Linked DNA regions of Homo sapiens: regions 1, 2 and 3 are each linked to region 4. The links are contacts of gene promoters, found by promoter capture Hi-C in blood cells and fetal thymus (Javierre and others, 2016). All regions are on one chromosome and are shown on one strand. The core of a region is centred on a gene start or on the middle of the fragment in contact, and the rest is flanking DNA. Distances in the headings are between cores, read along the strand shown.

Region 1 (6,386 bases), core at 2,029-4,528, 2.3 Mb after region 4:
GCTGGGATTACAGCCATGAGCCACTGCTCCCGGCCTGCTGTCATCATTTTAAAATAGCAGAAAGCAGGTTATTAATTACAAAATTGGGTTTTAGGTGTTATTTTGGTTAACTTTATCATTGGAAAACTATATGGTTAATATATAAAAATCAGTTGTATATCTATATATCAGCAACAAACAAATAAAAATGAAAATTTTTAAAAGATACTTCTTATAATAACATTAAAAACTATCAAATGCCCAAGGGGAAATCTAACAGACGATGCATAAGACCTCCGCACTGGAAACTAAATATTATTGAGATAAATTATAGAAGACCTGAATAAATGGAGAGATAAACCATGTTCATAGAGAACAGGACTCAGTATTGTTAAGTGGCTAATTCTCCCCAAGTTGATCTGTAGATTCAGTACAGTCCCAATCAAAATGTAAGCAGGTGTATGTTTGGAAATTAATAAACTGATTCTAAAATTTAGAATTCAAACAGCAAAAGCTAGACAAGATAATCTTGAAAAAAAGATGGAGAAATTATGCTTCCACATATCAAGATCTGTTACAAAGCCATAGTAATGATGAGAGTGTGATATTGGCACAATGGCAGACAGATACACAACAGATAAATGATAAATAGAATAGACACACTATTATGATAAAGATGATACTGAAGTACACTGGAGACAGGATGGTCTATGGATCCTAATACGAAAGGTAAAACAAGGCTTCTAGGAAGTAATATATAGAATATCCTTATGACCTTGGAGTGGGCAAAATTCCCTTAAAAAACTCCCAACACAACACCAACCAGAAAGAGAAAAAACTGGTAATTTGGATTATAATACCAAGAACTTCTGTTCATCAAAAGACAACATTAAGAAAATGAAAAGGCAAAATATACCAGAGGAGGTATTAGCAACACATATAACAAACAACTTATATCCAGTATATATAAAGAATTCCTATAAATTAATTAGAAAACACAAGCAACCCAGTAGAAAAATGAGCAAAGATTTGAACAGATAATTCACCAGAGAGGATATGTAGATGATCAATTAACATAAAAAGTTGCTCAACCTTATTAGTCATCAAATAAGTGCAAATGAAATCACAGCTCAATGGCAAGACACAACTACTAGAATGGGTAAAATTAAAAAGACAAAAAAATCTGGTATTGGCAAGGAGGTGGAGTAACACTGCAGATGAAAGCATAAGTTGGTACAGCCACTTTAGAGAACTTCTTAGTGGTCTCTACTTACGCTGAACAGATCCATATCCTGTGACCCAGTTGCTGTTACCTACCTCACAGAAATTTGCACAGTGTTCTTCAGAAGAAATGAATAAGAATGTTCATAGCAGCACTATTTGTAATAGCCCCAAATCAGGAATTATCCAAATGCCAACAGTAGGATTCGTAAATTGTGAAATATTCGTACAACAGAATACTATCTAGCACTGAGAATGAATGATTTGCAACTTCTGATATAAGTGCATCTCACAAACATAAAGTTGGACAAAATAAACCAGACACTGAAGAGAACATACCGTATGTTTCTATTTACATTAATTTCAAAAACAGGCAAAACTATAGTTATCTATGGTGATACATATCTATGGTGACTCATGCACTTTTCTGATTGTATGTTATACTTTAATTAAAAGTTTCTAAAATTAAAAAAAAAAACGCTGTATTATCTGGTCTTAAATAAGGCAGGTAAAACTCTTATTCCAGCAGTCACTAAGAGAAACTTTATCCCAGATCATCTTTCTCTAAAAACATAGCAACAGCACATATCTTGAGGAACGTTCTCTGAAACTGGCATAAAAGATTACGCTATCCATAAGCAAAGAGACGTTTCAGCAAACATTCTCTTTTCTCCAAAATACTGCAGTGTATACTGTCTTCTAGAACATCACTTCCCTCAAAAGCTACCAGTCCACCTCATTTTCTGGCAAGTAACGAAATTACTGAAAGATGAGGAGAAAAAAGGCTGATGTTAAAGGGCATTCGGCTGTTGCCATGTTGCTGCATTGCCTCACTTACCCACGTTGTAAGAAAGAGGTCAAAACACGGTTAACTGGCTTACCCAGGGTTATATAGGCTCTCGGTAGAGCCGCAGGAGGACTGAAGGAGACACTGCCAGCTTCTGACTCTGATTCTTTAATCTTTTCTATAGTCAGGTAACCCAGGATTGGGACAGAAAAACATAAGCCCTCTACTATCATATTTGTTGAATGTAAGATTTCCTCAGAATCAAGAATATGAATAGATTATGCACTTACTGTTCATATTTTTAATTTCTAGAATGGCTATTATGATTAGTTTTTGCTTTTTCTTTGGACAAAAGAATTTTGTGGTGCTAAAAGTGTCTTTTAAAATTTCCTTTTATTATGGAGAAAAAAAAAAGCTTTGTCCGGACACCGGTGGCTCAAACCCCTAATCCCAGCACTTTGGGAGGCCAAGGCGGGAGGATTTCTTGAGCCCCGGAGTTCAGGACCAGCCTGGGCAACATAGTGAGACCTTGTCTCTACAAAAAATGAGAAATGAGGCAGGTGGATCTCTTGAGCCTGGGAGATCGAGGCTACAATGAGCTGTGATTGTGCCACTGCATTCCCACTTGGGTGACAGTGAGATCTTGCCCCCCCCAAAAAAAAGAAAGAAAGAAAAAGTTTCAACCAGCCTGAACTAAGAAACTTTAAAAATATTCAACCCAAACTCAAAAACCGTGATTCCTTCAGCAAGGCACGTATGCTAACAAAGTCCCCTTGAAGCGTCTCTTCTGGAGACAGTACAGTCCCACAGTAGTGTTTAGAAATGTGTGCAGTGTGCAGGCATTTTTGCTTGTCACAGTAACTGCAGAATGCCACTCCTATGAGGCTTGGAATAGTCTCATTCAACAAGAAATAGTTTTGAACAAAATAACAGTGCCCTCACCAGGATGAACATTCTTAAAGTTATCATTTACTTCTAGGAATATTTGAACTATACATACATTTATGTCTTCAGTTTAACACATCTCTGTAGTATACTAGTTTGCATGTCTGAGATAAATATGATGGTCTGGATGATCTTAACCACAATTAAAGAATAAAAAATTACCTTAAAACTGACTTTTTAAATGCCCTGTGACTTTAAAGTGTCTAGAAACATTCTGTAATTTTGAATTCATCAAAAGCTTTGTCATCAAAAAGCCAAGTATGGCTTTAAAATACTTCTTTTTGGCCCAGGGAGAAAAATACTTTTTATTTTAACCTCCAAGTTTCATCGAGTAGATTAGTTATTTCTGTAGTTTGGTAATGCCCATTATTTGAGAATCTGATAACATCCAGGACTTCACCATATAATTCAGTCACTTGAAAGCCGTGAATTTCTGGCTGTACTAAAAAGCTTTCAACACTAGGGTTAGGTGTTCCTATGAAGACAAATAAAATTCCACATTTTTAAAAACCACCTTTGGCCGGGCGTGGTGGCTAACGCCTGTAAAATCCCAGCACTCTGGGAGGCTAAGGTGGGCAGATCACGAGGTCAGGAGATCGAGACCATCCTGGCTAACATGGTGAAACCCTGTCTCTACTAAAAAAAAAAAAATACAAAAAATTAGCCAGGCATGATGGTGGGCGCCTGTAGTCCCAGCTATTCGGGAGGCTGAGGCAGGAGAATGGGGTGAACCTGGGAGGCGGAGCTTGCAGTGAGTGGAGATCCTGCCATTGCACTCCAGCCTGGGTGACAGAGCAAGACTCCGTCTCAAAAAAATAAAAAAATGAAAATAAATATATAATAAAAACCACCTTTGAATTTAAAAATAGTTTTAATGTTGGAGCTAGCCCAGTTGTATGAGTGTGCTGAAGAAGCCAGTCTCTGCTTGCCTTCCTATAGCTCCAATTAGACATTTTTAATTACAGTGCAATCGCTGCAACTATTCTGGGCCATTTCAACCCATCCCACTCCACGAATACTCAGCTCAGTCTTAGCATTGGACATCAGTAGCAAGCAACTAGATGCTCCCACCTCAGGAAGCTTCTAATTTTGTGGGGACTACCCCTGTTGTGCTTATTGCTAAACTTATACTTCAGTGAACCTTTCAATTCTACATAATATATTCCAACTCATTTTGTGGAATCTGATTTTTTTTTTTTTTTGCTGACTTTCCTTTCACAGGTATTTAGTAAGTCAATGACGGGCAGCAGCAAGCCAGGCTTCTATTATAGTAATAATAATCAGATAACCAATAATCACTGAGGATTCTGTACATTCCAAAGCCATGCCAGGGGTCAAGAGCAAATACTTAGTGTCCTTACTATGTACAGGGCACTATTCTAAACATTTGGCTTATATTAACAGATTTAATCCTCACAGTTCAATATGCATGAACATTATTTTTCAGATGAGGAATCTGAGATGAAAGAGATTAAGAAAACTGCCCAAGGTTATGCTAACGAGCCTTAAAACTGGGATTTCAGCCTAGGCAGTGTGGCACCAGAGGTCTGATCATGACCATGAAGTGATAAACACAAGTATCCTCTAAGTTAGGTATCATCGTCTTAATTTTCCAGGGCAGGAAACTGAAGTTGAAGGATTTAAGAAAATGTGGTAGTAACTGGAGTTGTTTATGAATCTTCCCGTTCTCCTCTGGCACATGAGAAGATTGTGATACAGGATTTTTTGCTCCTTAGTTTAGCTAAATCCAGTTCTTGTCTTACAACCAGGAAAAATTAGGCACACAGAGACATCGAAGACTGAGGAGGATGGAATTTATTAAGTGAAAAGAAAGCTCCCAACAAAGAGAGGGGTCCTTCATGCAGGTTTCCACCTCACAAAAATTGAATGGCAGGCCACCACACGTGAGTTGAAGAGGCCAGGCTCTTTCCCCTCATAATTCATGAATTCCTGGTGGCTCCACCCATTCTCCTAGTGGTTGTGGGGCATGCCCAGACAAGCCCCCTGTGCTGGCTCCCATATCTGCACAAAGCATCTGGTGTAAAGACTTGTGGGTCGGGTTGGAGATGTGGCTGTGTCCTGCCTCTATCAATTGCACTTCTCTACATCTTCTGAGGTTAGGTGTGGCTGTGTGACTTGTTTTCATCAATGAAATGTGAACAGAAGAGCCAGGGAAGTATTAAGAGCTTGTGTGCCCTTCCTTCTGTGTTGGTGAGAGGTTTTTCAAGACGGAGGCTTTGTCACCTTGATCCTTGAGTGACTAGACTGGATAGTGCCCCTCTGCTGACTGCTGTTGGACACATTGGTTAATTGATAAACTTCTGAGATTCAAGGCAGGGTTGGAGGAAGGAGACTATTTGTAACCACACGTAATCTTGTCTAACTTAATTTGCCTAAATATCTTTCACACACTCTTAAGCTTGTTGGTGCCAGGTATTTATCTGGAATCGAGGGCTCTCTGACTTAACAATCCATGGTTTTTTCATTTATTTCCTCTCTTTTGGTATCATATGACCTGCAGGAACCCAAATTTCATTCTTTTGCTTGCCTTTTAATTTTATGATAGTAATGAAAGTGCCTAAAAAATTCAATCTGATGTCTATGGTTAGTCTAAGATTAAGATTAAGAAAATGTAGAGGAAAAATCTGTCATTCTCTGGCCTACATGTTTGGTCTGGAGCTTTAATATGATGATCTGCAGGATTAGGAGAAATTTTCCTGGCTTGCTTAATCCCGAGATTCAAGTTCTAGCAAACAACCGTCAGCAATAATGTTAGCTAAAGAATGCTAATATGTCCTAAATGTTACTCATATTTCTCACTGTGCTTATAGTTTTCATGGTGTGAGCTGCTACAAGAGTTCACCCTTTTTTAGGTTGTCACTCAGACATTCTGTAAAGTAATTCCATCATCCATATATATATATATATATATATATATATATATATATATATATATATATATGTATGTATGTTACTGAAACGCCATGGGTTCATCTGGGTCCTGCCGCTTGCTGCACAGAAAGCCAGTGACTGAGACGAAGAGTACTGCCAAGGAAGAAGGCTTTAATCTGATGCTGCAGCCAAGGAGATGGGAGCTCAGTCCCAAATCCATCTCCCTGACCAACTAAAACTAGGGGTTTATATAGCAGGGTCTTCCCTGCTATGTAACAATGTGTAAGAAAACAAGAACTAGAGAGGAGGGGTAACGAAGCAATCATGATGAATGAAGGGTCTGGCATCTCATTGTCTGGATGTGGTGATCTGGTGAGTTTCAGTTCTTTAATTTTCTTTTTCTTTTGAGAGGTCTGAATGTGGTTTCCTGAGGAAGGAACTCTGATAAAACAAATGTAAGTTTCAAATTTTAAAACCAGATGGGCAATTTCTATGTTTATCCAAAAAAAACTGTCTAGGGGACTATTGGGTCGGTTTCATATATATATAAAATCACTTTATG
Region 2 (6,128 bases), core at 1,160-3,659, 2.4 Mb after region 4:
GAAAGATGAGCTAGATATTTGAAGATTAAACTGTTGAACTTGGAATGAATAGTTTCTTTTCAAATGTTTCATGATGAAGTAGGAAGCCAAATCATGTTAGATGGACTGTTTCTAAGGGAAGAATCAGGTAAACCAGCTGCCTATTCCATGGATAAATCAGGATTACCTAAGCTCTTCATGCACTGCAACAAGACATCTAGGCTGTAGCTCTGTCACTAATCAGTTTCTGACTTTAAGTAGGTCACATGAACCTAAACTTCCTCATTTGTAAAATGAAACCAGATCTCTGGGAGCCCTTCCAGCTCTGACCTTCTGTGATCCTATGACTGGGAAAAGCTCTGAAACTAATAAGAAATAGACACGGGGTGCACAAAAAGACTTTTGGGGCCGGGTGCGGTGGCTCACGCCTGTAATCCCAGAACTTTGGGAGGCCGAGGCGGGCAGATCACCTGAGGTCAGATGTTCAAGACCAGCCTGGCCAACATGACGAAACCTCATCTCCACAAAAAAATATAAAAATTAGCCTGGCTTGGTGGCGGGCGCCTGTAATCCCAGCTACTTGGGAGGCTGAGGCACGAGAATCACTTGAACGCGGGAGGTGGAGGTTGCAGTGAGCTGAGATCAGGCCACTGCACTCCAGCCTGGGCGACAGAGTGAGACTCCATTGCCCCCACCCCCCGCCAAAAAAAATACTTTTTGATTATAATGGCTTAGCAGAAGAAGATGTGGGGCAGCCACATACCACAGGAATCCAACTGCTCAAAGCTGGGAATTCGATTTTCCGTTGGTAGAAGACCGGAACACATTGCAGAAGTAGATATTGTCCATCCAGCCTTAAGTGTTCCGAGATTGTTGATGTGGAAAGTCTAAGGATAGTTGTTGTGTCCCAGGCGCTCCATCTGTTGGTTTAGGTGTATGTAGATTAAAGTTGGCCACATGTTCTTTGCTCTCTTCCCATTGAGAAGTAGTCTTATTCCTTACTCTTGAAGGAGCTGGCCTCAGTGACTTGCTTAACTATAGAATATGAAAGAAGTGATAGTCCAGGATTTTCTAAGTTAAGCCATAAGGAACCTTGCATTTTCCACTGGGTCTCTTGGAATATTCTCTCTGTTAGCCCCATGCTGCCATGTAAAAAGTTCAGCTAGCTTGAGACTGCCATACTCCTAGAAAGGCCACTTGTGTGTGGCCTCTGGTCATCCTCTGGTCATGGTACCAGCTGAGGCCTACCTTCCAGTATCCCCTGCTGGATTCCACGTTTTTGTTTTTTTTTTTTTATTGAATCCTCCAGACCAACCCATCCACCATCTGAATACCTTTCAGTGACCTCCATCGACCCTACTTGGAATAAAGGGACTACCCAGCAAAGCCCTGCTCAGATTTCTGACCCACAGAAGAGTGAAATGCAATAAAATGGCTGTTGCTTTAGGTCACTAAATTTTGTAGTAGTTTGTTATACATCAGTAGATGATGGAATGGTGAGAAGTATCTGTGTTTGTGCATATAAACATTTAAGTAACTACTGCAATTAAATCCTTCCCTTTTACACCACCTTTTGAAAAATGTGTCAATTTTTATAGGACCATAGATGATATGCCAGATTTTGCAATATATTTTCTAAAGAACATAATTTTACATGAAGCGTAACACCAACCTTATATAATATTTAATCAATTTTAAGTTTAGAGCAATAAGCACGACCACATTGTGCCCAATCTATGTGTTATTTTTACAAGTTAATGCTGAAGTTCTGTCATCCCAAGCTTCTATACACAGGAATTATCCTTCTCGAATACCTAAACTTTTTTCATTATCCCTGCCTTGCAGAGTATTTAACATTCCTGCATCAACAGTAAAGAAGGGTACCTTTGCTTCATATAAAAATCATCACTTAGCTCAGTGCCAGGCATCTATTAATTTATCAATATATGTTAGCTGTAATGATGATTCATTCAATATGTCTTTAAAGAACATATAATTCAACAGTAATATACACATGTATGGAACAAGGAGAAACTATTATCACAATGGACTATAATATAGTTTCTGACTCCCTGTAAATAGAATCTGCTCTAAATTAAGCAGATGCTATAGCCATGCTTCAATATAACTCTGTTTTCAACTTCGTTATGAAATCCTTTAAGGGTGAGGCCATTTTACAAAGGACAAAGAAACTGGTGCTTCAGGAACTAAACTTTTTTGGATGAAACCCAAATGTATCTGGCATATCTTGAATTGTCTTTTATAGTCAATCCTGTTTTAGGGACATTAACAAAGGTTTATTATTACATAATTTGAGAGTCTTTCAAATAAAAGGAAAGGGCAGATCAAGGGCCATTTTCCCCAACCTCAGGAGTTAACTCCTCAGTACCTCACAGGAACCTGAAATCTTTGGAGGAAAAAAAAATAGTATTATTTTAAAAATTAAAAATAATAAAGATGGCTCTCTAAAGAAACATCTGAAATTAGTAGTAACATGCTGTAATATTATTTTCCATTGACTGTAGCCAAGGGCCTCTGCTAGCACCCATGAGAACTTTGTGTTCTTGAGAATAAGACACCTTTGCTCCAGGGCTTAGTGAGCAGGGCCTGAACTGGAGTTCCCTCCCACCACCTTAACTGAACTCTTCATGCAGGACACAGCATGTACAACCTCACATAGAGTTCCTGACCAGACAAGACTTGCTGGAAATTTCCCAGGATCTTCCTTCCTTAAGGTAGGAGTTTATAATAGGTTATAATTTATGAAAACAAAATATTTTTTCCTCCTTCCTCCCTGCAAATATTCTATACTTTTTGTATGATTCTGAGATATCTTCTCCTGTATCCTTGCCAACCACTAACATCACCATAGCCCCTCTTACAAAAATCTTTCTTTCTTTTTGGACAATGCAATTGTGCAATTCAGTGTTTTTCTGCATGTTTCTTTTATCTTTCTAAGGCTTGTTGCAAAAATATCTCTGCTGTCCATTACCTCTTCCTTAATATTCTTTCTTCTTATTCTTCTCAAAGAAATGACCAGCAATTAAAGCAATTCCTGTATACCAAAAACAAAGCTTTCAAGGTTGTTTTAAATGGGATACAGAAATAAACACACATACGTCTAATTTCAACTAAACTGAACTTGTAGTAGCAAAGAGATTTCTGCATTTTTTTTTCTTTTGAGATGGAGTCTCGCTCTGTCACCCAGGCTGGAGTGCAATGGCTCAATCTCAGCTCACTGCAACCTCCGCCTCCTGGGTTCAAGTGATTCTCCTGCCTCAGCCTCCCAAGTATCTGAGACTACAGGCATGCGCCACCATGCCTGGCTAATTTTTGTATTTTTAGCAGAGACGGGGTTTTGCCATGTTGGCCAGGCTGGTCTTGAAACCCTGACCTCAGGTGATCCACACAGTTCGGCCTCCCAAAGTGCTGGGATTACAGGTGTGAGCCACCGCGCCCAGCCTGCATTTTTTATTATAGATATAAAGGGTCAAATATTTTACTATCAAATATTGGTAACAAATGAATTGAATTCCCTCACTGGCACCTAAACTGCTGCCAAGACTCTTCTGAACCCGTGTGGTCTTCCAAATCTTATATATCAAATGTATCAAAAAATAGCAGGATATGTTGTGTGTGTACTGCTGGGGTTGTTTATTTGTTTGTTCGTTCATTCATTTTTGTTATTCTCACTTAATTTTTTTCATCAGCATCCATCATGGGAAGCCACCTTGCCCTAGGGAGAGCTCCTGACCTAGGGTCAGGAATATATTAAGGAAGACAGCAATTAATACATTCAAAAATAATAATAATTACAAATTGTAAGTATAATGCAGGCAAAGTGAGATCATGGGGTTTTGGCTTTACTCTGGGAGTCAGAGAATTTCTCTGGGGAGGTGACATATAAGGGAAGAAATGAAAGACAGGAGAGAAATTAGCCTGACAAAGAGCAGAGAGAAGAACATTCCTGGCAAAGATATTGGCATGGACAAAGGCCCCAGGCAAGAACAAGATTAGCCCCTACGGCCAGAGTGGCCAGAGAACAGGTGCGTGAGGTGTGTAAGGGACAAAGCAGGCCAGGGCATTTGATTTAAGGTTTTTGGATATTGGTTCATTTTTCAAAAACCAATCTTTAGCCTCTTTCATCAAAAGCAACCCTGTTTTCATTATTTCTGGTAGTTCTTTTTGTTGGTTTTATTATTTCTTGGTAAAGTAACAGATAGGAAGTAGATGACGGACCTGGCTGCATGTGTCAGGTGCCTTTGCAGCCTTTTCCAGGCCACTGGAGCATTGCTAATACACCAAAGCAATAACGTATTGCATTTCATGGAACCTAAGAATCATTTATTCTCAAATGCATCTTATTTCAGAGATATTTAAATGTAAAAACTTGTACATTCTAGAATTCATGCATTATGGTTTGCTGAAAGAGAATGTTTAACTTTACAGAACTAATTTATTCCTAAGAAATAGTTTACAATTCAAAGGCCAACTCTAAACTCATAACTGATACTGAGTATTTTCACAGCTTAAAGACTTTTTTTTACCAATCGCACTAAAGTTGTTAATAAAGCAAAGGTAAAAGGTCCATAGAATGTATGAGTGTTGAATTAGTGCATAATAACATATCAGTGGAGCTAAGTTGAAATTAATATAAGAATTCAGTTAATCATCATTTGCATAAATTCAGCCTGTAGACTAAAAATAGGGCCATATTTAAATTTTAAAAATAATGACGTGTTCAAATACAATGTTTAGAGTTCTTATTTGGATAATTCAGCAGCATTTAGACCATATTTTGATATAAAAAATAGTATAAATACTATGAGATATAACATATTTGACTTCAAAAAAGAAAAGAAAGAAGAAATTTTGCCCCTACCCTCCAAAATTATTGCTTATTTTCCCTGAATAAAAATAGATATGTATTCCACAATCTTTTTTTCCCAATTATTATATTGAGTATGTATTCCTATTTTATTTAATTTTTATTCTTGATCCTTGAAATTTATCTGTTCTGAAGCATTACAAGTAACGGAATAAAAAATGGATGAGTAAACACACTGGACTCTCCCCTGGCTCAGAAGGGCACTTGTCATTAAATCTGTAGCCAAGGAATATGTGATTCTTAATGGGTTTCCTGCAGCCTTCCTTGGAGTTTCTGCCTTCTCTTTATCTTATAAAAGGACCCCAAGGGCAGTTGGCAGGGATGGGTTTCCTCCAGGCTCCTCTGAGTGCAGATGATTCTGAGGATACATCACAACCAGAAGTCCTGCTGTCACTGGGTCTTGGGACATACCACAGGGGATACCGGTAGATGCATTTGGCACTTTATCCTAAAACCTAATTGCAGTCTCAGTGCACCAGAGGAACCAAATCATGTTCCTGCCCAAAGAAAAGTCCAGGCTGCTTAAGCCTAAACCAACCCCAGACTCTGGTCTGGCCTTCCATGAGATGGGTGTGCTGTTTTGGGGATGGGTAAAGACTAATTCCTTATAGACTGTCAGCAACTTCATTAGGAGAGAACTGAGGTATGGCTATAGGTGTCAGGGAGAAATACAATTAATCCAGATGCCCATCTCTTCAAAGATAGGGGACATCCTATCAAGCAACAATTGTTTCTTCCAGGCTTCATAGCTTACAATTACCTTTAGAAGTGTGCCTGGAGAATAGATTTGCCTTAATTCAAAACTTTTCTTTCATGGCCAATCATCTGTTGTACCCAGTTTCCAAGTCAGCCCTAATGATCTTCACTTCCTGATATTCAGTCCCCTCCCATACTGAATGCGTGTCCTATGTGACCAGTAAAATGTGGCAGATGTAACGGCATGTAACTTCTAAGGCTAGGTCATAAAAGGCATCACAGCTTCCACCTTGGGATTGCTTACTCTAGGGGAAGCCAGTTGCCATGTCATGAGGACACTCAAGCAGGCCTGTGGAGAGGCTCACAAGGAGAGGGACAGAGCTCCCCTGCCAACAGACAGCACTAACTTGCTGACAGTGAGAGTAAGCCACTTTGGAAGAGGATCCTCCCTGCAGCCCCAGTCAAGCCTTCAGATTCCTGCAGTTCTAACTGACATCTGCCTGCAACCACATCAGTGGCCCCTCCCTTCCATCACTTAAGCAGTGTGAGCTATCCAGCCTAGCTC
Region 3 (6,021 bases), core at 2,554-5,053, 3.0 Mb after region 4:
CAGGGCCTGCGGGCCTGACCTCGCCGCCGCCTCTGGCGGACTTGAGGGTCGACAGGAGCCCCGCGCCCGCCCGCTCAGCCACCCGCCCTCCAGTCAGGGCAGGAGCCGGCCAGCGAAGCCGAGGCGTCCGCTCGGGCCCCGAGCGCCGCAGCGGCGGGAAGGTCACCGGTCGCAAGAGGCCCCGACCGTGGGCAGCGACGACGTCCAAGCTACCTTTGGCCTCGCAGTCGGCGCAGTACTTGTTGTCCTCCTCCCTCAGAAGCTTGGATAGGATGAGCTGGTGCTGCTCGTTCAGCTTCTGAGCCTTCTCCCGACAGGAGCGCGTCGCCATCTCGGCAGCGGGGCGGGGAGCCTGGGGCAGCTACGGCGGCGGCGGACGCTGGCTGGAGCCGGGCAGAGTGAACGCACCTGGCGCCGCCGGGACCGCGGGCGGACTCAGCCCAGGAAGCGGCAGCGGCAGCTGGAACGGGAGGAGGGGCGGCGGCGGCGGTGGCGGTGGTAGCGCCGACGTGTCCCGCCTCCTTGACCGGCCTGCCGGCACGCACCACCCTAGCCGGCGAGGGGAGGGGGAGGGGGACTGGGTCGCGCCGAGGCTTCCGGGTGGCGCGGAGGAAGGAACCCGGGCGCCGAGCGCGCTGCGCATGCGCCGAACCTACGGGGCCCGGGCTGCCGAGTCTTTTTGCAAAAAGGCCTTCTGCCCAAGGTGATTCCCGAAAGGTAGCTGGCACTGCCTCATACGAGCTTTCCCCCCTTTTGAGATGTGATGGTCCGCAAGGGCCTCTAGTAAAACCCAGTAATGGAAGACCTTTTACAAGAAGCCTACTTTGACTTGCCCATTTGCCTTTGCTCTTGCTGGCACAACATTGGAAATGCAGAAATAACTAGCGACTGGGTGGGTTCATTTACTCATTCGAGGTTTATTCGCCTGCAGTTTAGAAGCTGGAGACACGGATGGAAGAAAAGAGGAAAAACGGTCTCTTACATTTTAAGGGCGAGAAATAATCTAGTAGTGACATGTATTAGGGGATAACATTTCATTGAGTGATTACTCTGTTAAACGAACTGTTAGCTCATTTAACCCTTTCCCCAACCTTATGATATTGTTATCCTCATTACACAGGGGAGGAAAGTGAGGCATAGAGGAGTTAAGTAACCTGACCAGATTACAGAACTACTAGTGGAGGAGTTGAGATTTAAATCCAAAGCAGTCTGGCTCCAGAGTCTGAAAGACCTGGCAGTAAGCCCTTCCATAAGGGGGAAAGTGTGACCAGGAACCCAAGTACTAGGCGGTGATACTTTAACAAGAAGCTGTGTAAATAGTGATCCTTAATGCAAGAGAAAGAGAACTAAAGAAAACACTTTTCATTGGAACCCAGACCCTAATCCAGGCTCATGAAGTTTGAACTCCGGGTGACGCAGTTTCGATGATTTGGCATGTTGTATATTATGAGGAAGTTCTAATATGGGGCTTATGCAAGCCAAATAAACACAGTCCTTGCCTGCGATGAAGCAGATGCTAAGAAAGGCAATGAGCAAGAGTCGGTCTTACACTTCTTAGTAAGGCCAATTTCTAGCCCCTGTCCCTGCATAAAAGTGACCCTCATTGCTACCTAGCCCTGTTCTTGGCACAGGGGCTCAAAAATGTTTCTGGAATTAAATTGAATGGATATGGCAATGAAGATGCTCAGTAATTAAACAAATTAGAGCTTATACTACATAGCTCTGACAAATAACTACTAGGGAGATATTGGTGAGTTCCAATGAACAGAAAAAAACATTATGTGGGAGGTAGAACTTACGAGCCTTGTCCTGAAGATACGCTGGATTTAGATGGGGACTGGGGAGGGAGATATTAAGAAAGAGCAGCTTGCACAAAAGCATGAAGACCTGAAGTACCTTGGAAAACAGACTGGAACAAAAGGTACTACTTTTGAGATAAGGCTGCATAAGTAAACTATGATAGGGTTATGGAAGACTTGGGAAGCCAGACAAAGTAGTCTGGCCTTGATGCAAATTGACAGTAGAAAACCTGTAGATTTTTGCCAGGCACAGTGGCTCACGCCTGTAATCCCAGCACTTTGGGAGGCCGAGGCAGGCGGATCACCTGAGGTGGGGAGTTCGAGACCATCCTGACCAACATGGAGAAACCCTGTCTCTACTGATAATACAAAATTAGCCGGGTGTAGTGGCGCATGCCTGTTTAATCCCAGCTACTCAGGAGACTGAGGCAGGAGAATCGCTTGAACCCGGGAGGCAGAGGTTGCAGTGAGCGGAGATCAGGCCATTGCACTCCAGCCTGGGCAACAAGAGCAAAACTCCTTCCCCACCCACCCCCCCCCCAAAAAAAGAAAAAGAAAACCTGTAGATTCTTCAAGTAGGATAATAGCATAATAAAAAGGATCTTTTGGGAAAGTTAGTCCTGCAGTAACCAGTAAACAAACACCATTTTTTGAGTACCTCTCCTCCCTACAAAAATTCTGTTCAGCACTGTGAGGACTCAGAAAAACAGAATACAGGTTTACCACCAAAAAACAACCTTCAGGATGGATTGAAGGGTCACAGCAATGTCCAGTACAAATACTTGCGTGCCACACGTATAACTTTAAATAATGCAGTAGCCACATTTAAAAACAGAAAAAGAAACATAAAATACATTTTACTAATACATTTGATTTAACTCAATGTATCCAAAATATTTTTGAGATGTAATATAAAACATGGCATATTTTCTTTCCATTCTTGTTTTCATATTCTCTTCAAAATGCTGTATAACACAGCTCATTTCATTTTGGAGTGGCTGAATTTATTTTTTAATAAAGAAATTATCAAAAAATTGAGCCTAGGAGTTCGAGACCCTGCTGGTCCATGGGGTCTCACTATGTGGGCCAGCATGGTCTTGAACTCCTAGCCTCAAGCTATCCTCCCACCTTGGCCTCCCAAAGTGCTGGGATTACAGGTGTGAGGCACTGCGCCCAGCCTGGAGTAGATGAATTTCAAATGTTCAGCAGCCACATGTGACTAGTGGATACATTATTGAATAGTGTGGTTCTAGATGGTCAGCTTAGAGGCTATTAAAATATAAATTTGAGTTGATTGTATTTTAAGACTATAGTAGGAAGAAAGAGACTGGTCCCCAAAACATCCTGGGAAGAAAACAACATTGCATTTATTCACCAGTATTTATCAAACAACTTCTATCTAGTACACTAATAATCAGAAGCTTACAGTCTACTATGAGCTACAAATATGTAAATAGAAAAGGACTACACTGTAAAGTTTATAGCAATTATAAAGTGTTCTCGGAGCAAAAGGAACAGAACATCCAGTAGCCTGGGAAAATCTGGGAAAGTTTCACGGAGGAGGTGATGCTTAAACTTGGCTTTTAACAGATGGGGGAATTTTTCAAGTGAATGGGGGTGGAGCGGAGAGAAAGGAATTGCTTTAAAAAACACGTATGGACTTCTGAAAGTTCAGGGTTATATGCTAGACATAGTGAGGATATGAGGCCCAAGAAACCTAGAATGTGTTTGGAGAACATGAAGGTAGGAAAGGAAACAAGATGGAGAGGTAGATTGCCACCAGAGGGTTAAGAGCTTTGTAGCCAAGCAACAGAGTTTGAACCTCATGGGTTTATAGAACCAATAGAAGCTTTTACACGGAAAAATGGCTTGATAAGCTTTCTTCTCAGTAACTCTCCATACAGTGGCAGTATGGAGAACATGGTGGGGAAAAACTTATCAAGGGAACAGATTACAGGCCTGTCTCAATAATAGTCCAAAGAAGATATGATGAAGGCCTATTTTAAGCAAGTAGCGTAGGGTTTGGGAGAGACAGAATCAAATGATGGTTTAAAATTAGAAGCAGCAAGATTTGGCAGCTGACTGTATGTGGAGGGCAAGAGAAAGAAGGTGAGAATAACATCAAGCTTTCTAAGTTGGGAGAAAGGTAAATGGTAATGCCGTTAACCCAGATCAAGAATAGAAGAGGTAGGCCTCTAGGTCCAGCAGTCACAGGGCTGAGCCAGCAGCACTAATCCTCCCAGTTCTCCATGTGCTCAGCTTCCTGCTCTGCAACCATGACACAACAGGCGATCTCCTTTGCCAAGGACCATCTGGCTGGTGGCATTGCTGCTGCTGTCGCCAAGATAGTTGTGGCCCTGATTGAGCAGGTGAAGCTGCTGTAGCAGATGCAAGGCGCTAGGAAGCAGGTGACAGCTGACAGCAGTGCACAGGAATTGTGGACTACTTTCTTAAGCAAGCCCTCAACATCACATTCAAGGATAAGCAGACACAGCTATTCCTGGGAGTATGGATGAACACACACAGTTCTAGAGCTGTTTTGCCCACAATCTGGCCTCCAACAAGGCGGCCAGAGCCACCTGTCTCTGTTTTGTGTACTTGCTGGGTTTTGCCAGAACCCATCTGGTGGTCAATGTTGGGAAATCGTACACAGAGCTGGGATTCAGGTTCAAAGACCTAGGAGACTGTCTGGTGAAGATAAGTAAGTCTGATGGGATCTGGGGCCTGTACCAGGGCTTCAGCATCTCTGTGCAGGGCATCATCCTTTTCTGGGCAGCCTGAAGGCCTAAGGCATGCTCCCTGACTCCAAGACCACCACATCATGGTGAGCCAGATGATTGCCCAGACTGTGGTGGTGCGGCCAACATGACCTTCTACCCATTGGGCCCTGTGCAGACCCAAAGGAGCCAACATACTGCACATGGGAACCCTCAATTGCTGGAGGAAGATTTTTAAGGAGGAAAAGGGAAAGCCTTCTTCAAGAGTGCATGGTCTAATGTTCTCAGAGATATGGGAGGAGCTTTTAGGCCTGTCCTGTATGTGGAATTGAAGAAGAGTAAGTGTGTTTCCTCACTAGAAATGAAAACCAAGAGAATCATGTAGCATACTTAACTGTTATGGACCACTGACCTTTGAGAAATTTCATTTTCTTGGTCCTGGCCATAGTACCTCTGTAGAGGACTAGAGAAGGCTTTAGAAAAGGGGTTCACCATGATCATATTCAACCATTGGCACCCTGAATCCACGCATTGATTACTGGCGATAATTATGACATCACCATGGGTCAACAAACAAGGCAGCTCCTTCAAACAGACCTGTAGTCCAGGCACTTGTAGAACCCAAGTTGTGTTTAAATATTTATTTATTTATTTTGTATTTATTTATTTTAGTTTTTATTTTTTTGAGATGGAGTTTCACTCTTGTTGCCCAGGCTGGAGTGCAACGGCACAATCTTGGTTTACTGCAACCTCTGCCTCCCAGGTTCGAGCGATTCTCCTGCTTCAGCCTCCCTAGTAGCTGGGATTACAGGCACCTGCCTCCATACCCAGCTAATTTTTTGTATTTTTAGTAGAGATGGGGTTTCACTATGTCGGCCAGGTTGGTCTCGAACTCCTGACCTCAGGTGATCCACCCGCCTCAGCTTCCCAAAGTGCTGGGATTACAGATGTGAGCCACCATGCCTGGCAAATATTTATTTTTTAAAAAGTCATGTCTCCCATTTGTATTTGAGCACTATCTCCTCTTTTGCATAGCCAAATATTTGCAATCATGTTGTATGTTGGGCATTCTTCTGCAAAACAGTAAAAAGAGGACACTGAAAAAACAAGAAAGAACAAAAGAGATAGTCCAGATTTGGGGTCGGGGAGAAGCAGCATTTGCTTGGGGACATGTTAAGTTTAAGATGTGCCTAGGACATCCAGCTTCATGTGTCTAATGAGATATTGTATATTGACTTCTAGAACTCTGGAGAGGAGTTACTGCTGGTAAAAGTCATTTGGGAATTATTTGCATTTAAAGGGTCATAGAAGCTGTAAAGATGGATGACATTCCCCCGGAGAAAGCACATAGACAAAGGAGAGGAGAGACCTAAAGACAAAATTCTGGGGATTGCCTACTAAATGAAGAGTGGACAGAGAAAGGTGAACCATTGAAAACAGTGGAGAACCAGAAGCCAGGGAAGGAACAGTTTTGAAGAAGAAAGGGTGAACACCAACCAATGCCA
Region 4 (6,275 bases), core at 3,329-5,828:
CTAAAGTGTTGATAAAGGAAAAGTATCAACTAAAGAATAAATATGAGGCCGGGCGCAGTGGCTCATGCCTATAATCCCACCACTGTGGGAGGCCAAGGCGGGCGGACTACCTGAGGTCAGGAGTTTGAGACCAGCCTGGCCAACATGGCAAAACCCCGTCTCTACTAAAAATACAAAAATTAGCCGGGCGTGGTGGCACATGCCTATAGTCCCAGCTACTCGGGAGGCTGAGGCAGGAGAACTGCTTGAACCTGGGAGGTGGAGGTTCCACTGAGCCAAGATCGTGCCACTGCACTCCAGCCTGGGCAACAAGAGCGAAACTCCATAAAAAAAAAAAGAAAGAAAGAGAGAGAGAGAGAGAGACAGAAAGAAAGAGAGAGAGAGAAAGAAAGAAAGAGAGAGAGAGACAGAAAGAAAAAGAAAGAAAGAAAGAAAGAGAAAGAAAGAAAGAAAAGAAAAGAAAAAGGAAGAAATTGCAAGGAGAAAACATAAAGACATGTGAGAGATGTCTACGGTATGTGAGGTCTGAACATGAATGGATCCAGATTCAAACAAACCATGTAAGAAAAAAAAAAAAAAAAGACCAGGAAAGGAGAAAAAAAAAATAGGCTGGGCATGGTGGCTCACGCCTGTAATCCCAACACTTTGGGAGGCCGAGATGGTTGGATCACCGGAGGTCAGGAGTTCAAGACCAGCCTGGCCAACATGGTGAAATCCTATCTCTACTAAAAATACAAAAAATTAGCCGGGCATGGTGGTGGGCGCCTGTAATCCCAGCTACTCCGGAGGCTAAGGCAGGAGAATCGCTTGAACCCAGGAGGTTGCAGTGAACTGAGATTGCACCACTGCACTCCAGCCTGAGCAACAAGAGTGAAACTCTGTCTCAAAATAATAATAATAATAAATAAATAACACCAACAATGATCTTTTATGGTAGTGTGCAATCAGGAAATAAATGCCAGATATAAGGGGGAAAAAATGTGTCATCATACTTTTTTTTAATCTTCTTGGGGCCAGGCACAGTGGTTCACACCTATCATATCAATACTTTGGAAGGTCAAGGCAGGAGGACTGCTTGAGCCCAGCCTGGGCGTCACAGGGAGGCCCTGTCTCTAACAAAAATGTTTTTAAATTAGCAGGGCGTGGTGGCACATGCCTGTGGTCTCAGCTACCAGGGAGGCTGAGGTAGGAGGATCACTTGAGCCCAGGAGGTGGAGCCTACAGGGAGCCGTGATCACACCTCTGCACTCAAGCTTAGGTGACAGAGTAAGATCCTGTCTCAAAATCTTCTTGGGAAGATTATAAAAACAAAAACCAAAGTACCTCCTCTGAACCTAGAATCAATGACACTGCAATAGGAAGAAGTACACCCAATGCTCAGATGTTAGTTTGTAATATCATTCTCCTTATAGAAATGGCAGGGGTAGAGAATACACAAGATGAGCCTGGAACATCTTGTTGTACCAGAAAGTAAGGGAATGCTCAAAAAACACAACAATGGAGGCATGCAAGACACAAGAGCCAACTGAAAGAGCTCTTAGTCACCAAAGCTGGAACAATTTGAGCAACAAAATAAATAACATAGTGTTGGGAGTATAACCCAAAGTATAAAATAATAACCATGACATCATACTAATAAAAATAAATGATTGAATAAGTAAATAAATGTAGGAGAATAAACAAATCTCCCAAACAAAAGAATTCTTCCCCTGAAACTGGTGGAGTATAGATAACTCCCCACCCCTTAAGTGAAGGCTGCACATACTGATTTCCTTCCAAAGAGAAAAGTAAGGCCGGGGGAAAAGAGTTAACTTCACAGTGAAAACACCTGACAAACACAACCTCAGGCATGCAATGAGGCTTACCATCACTACTGATAAACATCAGTGATAAATAAGTTGACAGCACATTCCCTTGACATTACATGATGAGAATGGCCCTTTACCTCTATGACCTTTCCCTCAAAAATCCATAACCCCAGTCTAATTATAAGAAAAACATTCAGGCCGGGGGTGGTGGTTCATGCCTGTAATCCCAGCACTTTGGGAGGCTGAGGCAGGTGGAGGCTGAGGCAGGAGGTCAGGAGATGGAGACCATCCTGGCTAACATGGTGAAACCCCATCTCTACTAAAAATACAAAAAATTAGCCGGGCGTGGTGGCATGCACCTATAGTCCCAGCTACTCGGGACGTTGAGGCAGGAGAATCGCTTGAACCTGGGAGGTGGAGGCTGCAGTGAGCCGAGATCGTGCCACTGCACTCTAGCCTGGACGACAGAGCGTGACCTCGTCTCAAAAAAAAATTCGACAACCCAAATTAAGACACTTTCTACAAAACCTACCAGTACTCTACAAAACTGTCAAGGTCAGCAAAAGCAATGAAAGTCAGGAACTGTCGATCTAGAGGAGCCTAAGGAGACATGTAATGTGGCATCCTGGATGAGATCCTGGGACCGAAAAAGGATATTAGGTAAAAATTAAAGAAACGCAAATTAAGTATGAACTTCAGTTAATAATTATCTATACTGGCTCGTTAGTTATGATATATGCATGATACTAATGTAAGATCTTAATAATAGGTCAAACTAAGCAAAGGGTATGGAGAACTCACTGTACTATCTTTGCAACGTTTATGTAAACCTAAAATTTCTAAAATAAAAAATATTAAAAAAAAGAATTCCTCTGGTTTGAAGTCTTTCAAGTCTGTTGCAACTATATTCCCTGGCCCAAGTTATCTATAACCTTGGTCATCTGGGAGCTTGTTAGCAATACAGAATCTCAGGCACATCCCAGATGTACTGGGCTTCTCAGAGAAACAGCCCCAATTGGGTAGTTTGGGTAATAAAGTTTTGGCTTTCACAATATAGGCTGGCCAACTCGACCCAAAACAGATGATGGTGCACATGCCTGGAGACCCAGGAGGACCTGTGGTGCAGATGAAGTCTGAGGACACTCTGCTGGAGAAGTCTCCCTTGCTTGGGCAAGAGAAGTGGGGGAGTCGGATTTTTTATTCTAGATAGGCCTTCAACTGATTGAAGGAAGCCCACCCAGATTATGGAAGGCAGCCATCTTTACCCAGAGTTCAATGATTTTAGTGTTAACCTCATCCAAAGACAACCAGCAAGTTAACACATAAAATTAACCATCACACCAGATCTGCTGAATCTGAATCTACATTTTAAAAGGATTTGCCAGGTGACTCTGCATAATCCAGTTTGAAAATTGCATTTTTCTACAACCCTTAGAGAGTGTAAAAATCTACATGGTAATTCAGTAACTCAGAAACAAGGCTTGATTTGCTGCTTTAACTTGAGAACTTTTCTAGCATTTACTGATCTGGAGGTAGGGATGCCTACAGAAATCCTCGCCCTCCCTTCTAGGTAAAGGACCCTCCCCTTTGTTCTCACGTGAACCTCACTAAGCTTCTAACCTGGTTTACTGAATTAGTGGCTTGTGGGTCTTCCCTGTCTACACCAAACTCTCCGAGAGCATCTACATCTTATTTTCTACCTCCACAGAGACAGCCTTTATTGGCGGATCCAGATCTGCCCTGCCAAGGCAAGCTGGGTTTTCCTAGTTTCACTTTCAGAGTCCGCAAATGCTAGCACAATCTATCCAAATTCTATCGTGGAGATAAAGCATGCACACATACATCAGAGGATTCCATAGGTCGAACCATATGAAACTACCTATGTTGATTACTTTTACCTATAAAACCAGCAACATCATAGGACTCAACAAATTTCCATTGCTGTTTTTCCGCCTAAAAGCTATTTTAGGACCAGGAGCAGTGGCTCACGCCTGTAATCCCAGCACTTTGGGAGGCCGAGGAGGATTGCTTGAGCCCAGGAGTTCGAAACCAGCTTGGGCAATATAATAAGACCAAGCCTCTACAAAAATAAAAAGTAGAAACAAAATTAGCCAGATGTGGTGGCATGCTCCTGTAGTCCCAGCTACTTGGGGGAGCTGAAGAGAATCGCTTGAGTCCAGGAGTTGGAGGTTGCAGTGAGCTGCGATTGCGCCACTGCATTCCAGCTTGGGCAACAGAGCAAGACCCTGCCTGGGAGAAAAAAAAAAAAAAAAAAAAGCTATTTTAGGGACAATATGCCGCCACAGTCACGAGGTAAATATGCCGCCACAGTCACGAGGTAGATCGTACAAAGGTTGCTAACAGTATGGCAACTGACCGCTAACAAGCGAATGTCAAGTTGTGAAATGCACACCACCCACTTCCCTAGTTCGGTCGAAGCCCTCCCCTTAATTATGTGCAATTCAAGTCCCCACTGCCCGCCCGCAAGCCCCCACTCATCCTCGCTGCGGGCAGGGTGGCCCCTGCACTTTACAAGGGGGTGCAGGAGCGGGAGACGGTCGTCCGAACACCGGCTCCCCGGCATGCGTAGACCGGCGGGCGGAGCGGGCTCACTTTGCGCCAATCCTACGAGAACTCCCAGAACTCCGCTTCCCTAGTCCAACCCAAGCCAGAGTTGCCCACACCTAAGATGGCGGCGGGGGCGGAGTCGGCGCGGCCGCCTCTGGGCGGGACCGCGGGGACTAGACGTGGCCGCGGGGCGGTGTCATCGCCCCCGCCCCGCCCGGTCCAGCCAGCTCGGCCCGGGGGCTTCGGGCTGTCGGGCCGGCGCTCCCTTCTCTGCCAGGTGGCGAGTACACCTGCTCACGTAGGCGTCATGAGGTCTCCGGTTCGAGACCTGGCCCGGAACGATGGCGAGGAGAGCACGGACCGCACGCCTCTTCTACCGGGCGCCCCACGGGCCGAAGCCGGTAAGCGGCGGGGTCGTCCAGGGGCTTCGAGTGGGCAGCGGTACCGGGGGCGGCGGTCTCTGGGCCGGCATGGCCCGGGTACCCGCACCCTGCGCCGGCGGGACCGGAGCTGCTCAGGCGCGAGGGGACATTAAGAGGGGAGCCCGTTCAGAGTGCCGCTCAGTCCCGCCTGCCTCGGTGCGCAGAAGCCCCTCGGGAACCCCGGGGGCCGCGACCGTGATCGCGGAGCCGAGCCGGGGCCTCGGCAGGTGCAGCCCCACCGGGCGGGGGCGGGGGCGGGGGCGGGGGCGGGGGAGCGGCGGTGCAGCCGGCGCTGAGCTGGTGGTTATTTTGGGTAGTGCTGAGCAAGGGACCCAGTGGAAGAACGAACTGGGAGAGAATCATCAAATGAATGGGCTAAGGTCCGAGCGGAGGACCCCGGTGTAAGAGCAAACTGGAGGAGAAACCTGCAGATCAGTAGGCAGAGGGCTGTCCTTCCCTGTCACCGCTAGGTTTCCGCCACTGCGTATCCGCCAGCATGTGACCTGGTAGCTTCTTAGGCGGGGAGGGAAGACAAAAAAGGACTGGAGTTAACATTTGTGAGTATGCAGAGGGCAACTATTGTATAACCCAGCTGATATCTTGACATTGTGCAGTAAGAGACTAAAAACATCGAGGACATTTTTTTTCCGTCTGGCAGTCTATGATTTAAGTTAGGAAAAGGTTCAGTTATCCTCAAGATACCTATGGAGTTCTAAAGTAATTTGCCAAAGGTCTTGGAACAAATCGAAAAGCAGGTACGTCATAAAGCATCTTCCCTGAATTTGAGAAAATTAAAATATTTTGCTATTTGACACTTTTGTAATATAGTTTATTTAAAAGTAACGAAAACTAAAGAACAAATCAGTTTGAATGCATTCTATAGTTTCAAAGATCTGTGCGTGAGAAAGAGTTGTGTTGGAAATTTGACTTTGGCTAACCCAGAATTGTATAGTTTCTATATTTTTATTTGTTTTTAATGTTACCAGATGGTGGCAGTAGAGGTGGCAACCTTATAGCTCCATCTGGCAGCCGGGAGCTTATTTTAGTCAACACAAACTGTAAATACCATACCATAGTTACGTTTTACCTGGAAGTCGGACTTAGTTCCATAAACTGATCATTTTCTGTGGCTTGTAGTGTTCAAATTGTATAATATTCCTCATAAAATAATATAGAAATACAGAAATAAAAGTTATAATAAAGATATTTGCCAGAGATTATTACATTGTTACAATTGAAAAATATGTATATGTATAATCAAAATTTAGCACAAATGTTAAACATTATTCTCAGGAAAATGCAGATTAAAATTACAACGAGGCACTATACACCCACTAGAATAGCTAAAATCCAAAAGGCTGATAATACCAAATGTTAGCAGAGATGTGGATAGAAAAGTTATACATCTCAATAAAGATTGAGATGGACAAATGTATACATTTATCACGTAAATTATACTTCAATAAAGTTGATTTTT

What was found. The method cuts DNA at HindIII sites, captures the fragments that hold promoters and counts their contacts. A CHiCAGO score of 5 or more calls a contact.
Region 1: a contact is called between a fragment that was not itself captured here and the fragment with the promoter of SLC17A5 in region 4, in 1 of 17 cell types (total B cells). The highest score is 5.5, in total B cells.
Region 2: a contact is called between a fragment that was not itself captured here and the fragment with the promoter of SLC17A5 in region 4, in 2 of 17 cell types (total B cells and naive CD8 T cells). The highest score is 6.9, in total B cells.
Region 3: a fragment that was not itself captured here is called in contact with the fragment with the promoter of SLC17A5 in region 4 in 1 of 17 cell types (naive CD8 T cells); the score reaches 6.7 in naive CD8 T cells.

Annotation. Positions count from the first base shown.
Region 1 is chr6:71,366,473-71,372,858 of GRCh38, reverse strand. No RefSeq gene overlaps it. Among named protein-coding and RNA genes, the nearest start is that of MIR30C2, 7.4 kb to the left of the region's middle. RefSeq lists an enhancer at 4,313-5,512. The HindIII fragment of the contact is 212 bases long and covers 3,173-3,384 here.
Region 2 is chr6:71,281,446-71,287,573 of GRCh38, reverse strand. It overlaps LOC124901339 (a long non-coding RNA gene), which reads left to right. Exons shown (of 6, transcript XR_007059640.1): 4 at 2,634-2,714; 5 at 3,690-6,128. Among named protein-coding and RNA genes, the nearest start is that of OGFRL1, 4.3 kb to the left of the region's middle. The HindIII fragment of the contact is 1,293 bases long and covers 1,763-3,055 here.
Region 3 is chr6:70,662,334-70,668,354 of GRCh38, reverse strand. It overlaps SMAP1 (small ArfGAP 1), which reads right to left and starts at 472. Exons shown (of 11, transcript NM_001044305.3): 1 at 214-472. The coding sequence starts at 331. It also overlaps the pseudogene SLC25A6P6. RefSeq lists silencers at 1-140, 291-690. The HindIII fragment of the contact is 249 bases long and covers 3,679-3,927 here.
Region 4 is chr6:73,652,295-73,658,569 of GRCh38, reverse strand. It overlaps SLC17A5 (solute carrier family 17 member 5), which reads left to right and starts at 4,578. Exons shown (of 11, transcript NM_012434.5): 1 at 4,578-4,777. The coding sequence starts at 4,684. RefSeq lists an enhancer at 3,374-3,463 and a silencer at 4,463-5,132. The HindIII fragment of the contact is 4,556 bases long and covers 3,423-6,275 here.